2 separate regions of the Homo sapiens genome follow, and region 2 is linked to region 1. The links are contacts of gene promoters, found by promoter capture Hi-C in human tissues and cell types (Jung and others, 2019). All regions are on one chromosome and are shown on one strand. Each heading gives the region's core, a stretch centred on a gene start or on the middle of the fragment in contact. The rest is flanking DNA. Distances are from core to core; before and after follow the strand shown.

Evidence for each region. Contacts are between HindIII fragments. The study calls those that stand out against the background at their distance.
Region 2: a fragment that was not itself captured here is called in contact with the fragment with the promoter of TMEM221 in region 1 in 2 of the 25 tissues and cell types used here (lymphoblastoid cells and mesenchymal stem cells).

Annotation. Positions count from the first base shown.
Region 1 is chr19:17,447,297-17,450,200 of GRCh38, forward strand. It overlaps TMEM221 (transmembrane protein 221), which reads right to left and starts at 1,372. Exons shown (of 3, transcript NM_001190844.2): 1 at 847-1,372. The coding sequence starts at 1,166. RefSeq lists a silencer at 1,386-1,505. The HindIII fragment of the contact is 11,612 bases long and covers 1-2,904 here.
Region 2 is chr19:17,299,232-17,302,054 of GRCh38, forward strand. It overlaps ABHD8 (abhydrolase domain containing 8), which reads right to left. Exons shown (of 5, transcript NM_024527.5): 2 at 1,625-2,393. The coding sequence starts at 2,385. It also overlaps a transcript of MRPL34 not described here. Among named protein-coding and RNA genes, the nearest start is that of ABHD8, 2.8 kb to the right of the region's middle. RefSeq lists enhancers at 1,730-2,230, 2,231-2,731. The HindIII fragment of the contact is 7,858 bases long and covers 1-2,823 here.

The DNA.
Region 1 (2,904 bases), core at 122-2,621:
CAGGTGTGAACCACCATGCCTTGTCCTTGTTATGTTTCCTTATTTTCTGTGACCCCATGAGAGCAGGTCTGGGTCCACTTGGTCCCCGCTGTCTCTGATGCCCTGAGCCAGATCCATTCCCCTGCAGGCAGGCACCCAACAGATGTTTGCTGACCCGTGGGACCCATGCATTTCATTGTCCCTTGGGTGGAAGGTGCATGGTCTGGATAGGATCTACCTCAATGGTGGGAGTTCTCATCTGCTCAATTTCACAGAATTCTGGACTAGAATTTGGGCTCCTCTCCCCCGACATTCTGGAGAGAAACACTACCATGTGGGACAGCGGAGTCCTCAGCTCAAGGAGGGTTCCTCCTTCCACAACCACTGCCCCTGATAGGGGTCCCTCAATGACCACATCCCTGACTGAGTTCAGGTCCCTGAGGAAGGAACTCAATTTCAGACCAGGACACAGGCTCTGGCTGGCTCTACCCAGAACCAAGTTCAAGTCCAGCACTGTCCCGCCTCCCACCCACTTCCAAGCCAGACAGCCTGAGAGCTCAGCCTCCCCTGTTTGAGATCCAGGCAAGCTGATCCTGGACCCTCTTTGAGCCTCAGTTTCCTCATCTGCAAAATGCGAGACACAGCAGTGGTTGCACCTGCTGCAAAATTGAACAAATATAGAATGGAGGGAGGGAAGGAGGGAGGAGGAGAGGAAAGGAGGGAGGCAGAGAGACATGGAGTGGTGGGGAGAGGGAAGTGGGGAGGGAAGCTGTCCCCCCAGCCTGAGGCCAAAAGAGGGGAAGAGGCTCAACCAGGCTCACCCAGCCCCCAGCCGGGCCTCCGAGGCGGTGAGGCCAGTCCTCCTACCTCCTGGGGCCAGGCCCCCGCGCCAGCTCGGCGCCCAGGTGGCCACAGAGCGCGGCGAGCAGCAAGCAGGTGAACCCCAGCACGAGCACCAGCGCGGCCAGCGCGGCGGCCAGCGGCAGCAGCGTCCCGGCCGCGTCCTCTGGCAGCCCGGGGCCGGCGCCCAGCTCCTGGCCCAGCCCCTCGGCGCGCAGCCCCCGCAGCTCGGCGCGGCCCGCCTGCAGCTGAAACAGCAGCTGCGCGCCCAGCGCCGCCAGCACGGCCGCCGCGATGCCCAGCAGGGTCATTGCAGCCAGCACCCGGCCGCCGTAAGAACGGGCCATGGCGGGGGTTCCTGCGGGCCGGGGGAAGAGTTGAGGAATTGAAGTGGTTTTAGAGGGCAGGGGAGTTGGGGGGAATCCGAGGGTCCTCAGGGGGTCCCCGAGGGGGCGGGGCCGCAGGGAGTGTCTGAAAGTTCGGGGACTGGGCTGGGGGTCGCCAGACGGACGGGGGCTCCGGGGTGCTGGTCGCAGCCGGGACGCCGAATCTCCGCGAAAACTTGGGACAAAGTCTTTTCTCCTCCCTCCCGGGGCCCCGCGGGCGCCCCCTCTTGGTCCGCTGGGCCTGGCGGGGCGGGGCCTGGCACCGGGCGCAGGGCGGGGAGGCCCCACTAGGGACTGGATCGCGGGAACCCCACAGCTCGCTAAGTTCAGAAAAGGGCACCACCCCGCCCCCTGCCGCCCTAAGCATCGATTGTATTGTGGTTTAAAACAAGAAAAAGGAGGCCGGGGGCGGTGGCTCTCGCCTGTAATCCCAGCACCTTGGGAGGCCGAGGCGGGCGGATCACAAGGTCAAGAGTTCCAGACCAGCCTGGCCAATATGGTGAAACCCCGTCTCTACTAAAAATACAAAAATTAGCCGGGCGTGGTGGCCGGAGCCTGTAATCCCAGCTACTCGGGAGGCTGATGCAGGAGAATTGCTTGAACCCAGGAGGCGGAGGTTTCAGTGAGCTGAGATTACGCCATTGCACTGCAGCCTGGGCGACAGAGCGAGACTCCGTCTCAAAATTAATTAATTAATTAATTAAAAAATAAAAAATAAAGAGAAAGGAGGCCGGGCGCGGTGGCTCTCGCTTGTAATCTCAGCACTTTAGGAGTCCGAGGTGGGCGGATCACTTGAGGTCAGGAGTTCAAGACCAGCCTGGCCAACATGGTGAAACCCCCGTCTCTACTAAAAAAAAAAAAAAAAAAAAAAATTAGCCCGGCGTAGTGGTGCATGGCCTGTAATCCTAGCTACTCGGGAGGCTGAGGTTGGAGGAATGCTTGAATCAGGGAGGCGGAGGTTGCAGTGAGCCGAGATTGCACCACTGCACACTCCAGCCTGGCTGACAGAGTAAGACTCCATCAAAAAAAAAAAAAAAAAAAAAGAGAGAGAGAGAGAAAGGGCTGGGTGAGGTGGTTCACAACTGTAATCCCAGCACTTTGGGAGGCTGAGGCAGGAGGATGGCTTAAGCCCAGGAGTTTGAGACCAGCCTGGGCAACATAGCCAGACCCCATCTCTACAAAAAATAAGGAAGTCAGCCTGGTGTGGTGGTGCACGCCTGTGGACCCAGCTACTTTCGGGACTGAGACAGGAGGATCGCTTGAGCCCAGGAGGTCGAGGCTGCAGTGAACTGAGATCACGCCACTGCACTCCAGCCTGAGTGACAGAGCGAGGCTGTGTCTCAAAAAAGAAATAACAAAATTTAAAAATTCACTTTTCATTTGATCTCAACCCAGGGACTCTGTCATTGGCTGTGATTTCCCCTCTGCTTACTTCCTTCAAGCCTTTGGGTAACCGTTGCTTCCTCTAGGAGGCTAGGGAGAATCCTGGATCCCTTCCCCAACTGGTCCCCCAAATTATTCGCACAGCACTTTAAAAAAATCGAGATGAAACTTACATAACATAAAATTAATCATTTTATTCAGTGGCATTTAGTGTTGTACAATCATTACCTCTGTCTAGCTCCAGAAGATTTTCATCCCCCCAAAAGGAGACCCCATCCCCATTACCAGCCACTCCCCATTCCCCCTCCTCAAGTGG
Region 2 (2,823 bases), core at 308-2,807, 150 kb before region 1:
AGACCCCCCCCCCATTCTCTATATAATTTTTTTTTGAACTTGAAAATTGGCCTGGTGCGTTGGCTCACGCCTGTAATCCCAGCGCTTTGGGAGGCCGAGGAGGGCGAATCACGAGGTCAGGAGATCGAGACCATCCTGGCTAACACGGTGAAACCCCGTCTGTACTAAAAAGACAAAAAATTAGCCAGGCATGGTAGCGGGTGCCTGTAGTCCCAGCTACTAGGGAGGCTGAGGCAGGAGAATGGCATGAACCTGGGAGGTGGAGCTTGCAGTGAGCCAGGATCACGCCACTGCACTCCAGCCTGGGGGACAGAGTGAGACTCCATCTCAAAAAAAAAAAAAAAAAAAAAAATTAAGGCTGAGCACAATGACTCACACCTGTAGTCCTAGCACTTTGGGAGGCTGAGGTGCAAGGATCACTTGAGCCCAGTAGTTAAAGAACATCTTGGGCAACATAGTGAGATGCCATCTCTATTTAAAAGAAAAAAAAATTTTAAAAATGTAAAAATTAAATTGAAAAATGGGATTTTTTTCAAGGAGAAAAATTAGGATTTTTGTTTGCTTTGTTTTGTTTTAGGAGATAAGGTTTTGCCATGTTGTCCAAACTCATCTCCAATGATCCATCCACAAAGTGCTGGGATTACAAATGTGCACCACCGCGCGTGGTGGCCCCTTTTTTTTTTTTCATGACGGAGTCTCCTTCTGTCGCCCAGGCTGGAGTGCAGTGGCACAATATGATCTTGGCTCACTGCAAGCTCCGTCTCCCGTGCTCATGCCATTCTCCTGCCTCAGCCTCCCGAGTAGCTGGGACTATAGGTGCCCACCACCACACCCAGCTAATTTTTTGTATTTTTAGTAGAGACAGGGTTTCACCGTGTTAGCCAGGATGGTCTCAATCTTCTGACCTCGTGATCCGCCCGCCTCAGCCTCCCAAAGTGCTGGGATTACAGGCGTGAGCCACCGCGCCCGGATTTTTTTTTCTTTTTTAAAGAGCGACAGGTTCTTGCCATGCTGCCCAGGCTGGAGTGCAGTGGTGTGATCACAGTTCACTGCAGCCTCGACCTCCCAGACTCAAGCAATCTCCTGCCTCAGCCCTTAAGTAGGTGGAACTATATGCGTGCACCTCCTCACCTAGCTAATGTTTGTACTTTTTGTAGAGCTAGGGGGTTCTCCCTATGTTGCCCAGGCTGGTCTCAAACTCCTTGCCTCAAGATATCCTCCCGCCTTGGCCCCCGAAAGCACTGGGATTACAGGTGTCAGTGGCATCTCAGAGTCTCCCTCTGTCGCCCAGGCTGGAGTGCAGTGACACAATCTCGGCTCACTGCAACCTCCACCTCCTCGGTTCAAGTGATTCCTCTGCCTCAGCCTCCCGAGTAGCTGGGACTACAGGCGCGTGCCACCACGTCTGGCTAATTTTTGTATTTTTGGTAGAGACGGGGTTTCACCACCTTGGCCAGACTGTTCCCGAACTCCCAACCTCAGGTGATCCGCCTGCCTCGGCCTCCCAAAGTGCTGGGATTACAGGCGTGAGCCACGGGGCTCAGCCAAAAACTCAGTATTTTGTGACTGTAGTCCCTGCTGACCCCATCCCTCACCCCCACCCCACATGCCAGGGTTCACTTACCCGTAGGAATGGCCAATGAGCACATTTCGCTTCTTGGCATAGCGCTTGAAGATTGCTCGCATGTCCTCAGCCAGCGCATAGAAGGTGTAGGCTGCGGCCACCTGGGGCGCAGAGCTGGCCCCGTGGCCGGCCAGGTCAGGAGCCACCACCTCATAGCCTAGGCGCACAAAGAAGTCCAGCTGCTCCTTCCAGATGGCCAGGGAACCGCCGACACCATGGATGAAAAAGAGCACCACGTCGGCCTGGGCGCCTTTGCAGCTAGTGATGCGCTTCTCACAGTCAATATGGATGGTCCTCTTGGGGCGCCTGGCTCGCCGCCGCCGCCCACCACTGCCACTGCCGCTGCCGCTGCCTGCGCTGCCGGGGGCCAAGCGGCCATCGCTGCCCGCCGGATCTGCCAGCTCCACCTCCAGGGCGGCCGGCGGCTCCCCAGAGCCATTCTGCCCGTGTAGGAGGTCGGCTCGAGGGGCTCGGCCCAGGTTTTCCACCAGCAACCGCCCATTGCGGTACACGGTGATCCGGCGCTGACAGCGGACCAAGCCGGAGAGGTCCCCCTGGGCTGCATCCGAGGATGCGGATGATGGTGGAGGTGGGGCAGCGGCTGGGGCGGGTCCTGCATGCTTCACCCGCAGCACGCGGCCGGGCTTGACCTCTACAAAGGTGTAGCCATCGCTGGACTCGACGCTCTCCAGTGGCCCCACGGCGTTGGGGGGCGTGCCCAGCAGGCAACAGAAGATACCGTCGGTCACCCCGGTCAGCATGGTGTGTCCTGTGAGTGAGGACAGCAGCCAGTTCAGGTGCTGTCTCAATGAGAACCCTGCACCGTGCAGCAGGCACTCCCTGAGCCTTGGGAGAACTGTTTTAGACTCCAGTTTGGGGAGCGCCAGATCAAGTGAGCCACGGCACTGAGATTTTTTTGTTTGTGTGTGTGTGTGTGTGTGTGTGTGTGTGTGTTTTTGAGACAGTCTCGCTTTGTCATCCAGGCTGGAGGGCAGTGGCCGGATTTCGGCTTACTGCAACCTCCCCCTCCTGGGTTCAAGCGATTCTCTTGCCTCAGCCTCCTGAGTAGCTGGGATTATAGGCAGGTGCCACCATGTCTAGCTAATTTTTGTATTTTTTGTAGAGATGGGGTTTCACCATGTTGGCCAGGCTGGTCTTGAACTCCTGACCTCAAATTTTCCTCCTGCTTCGGCCTCCCA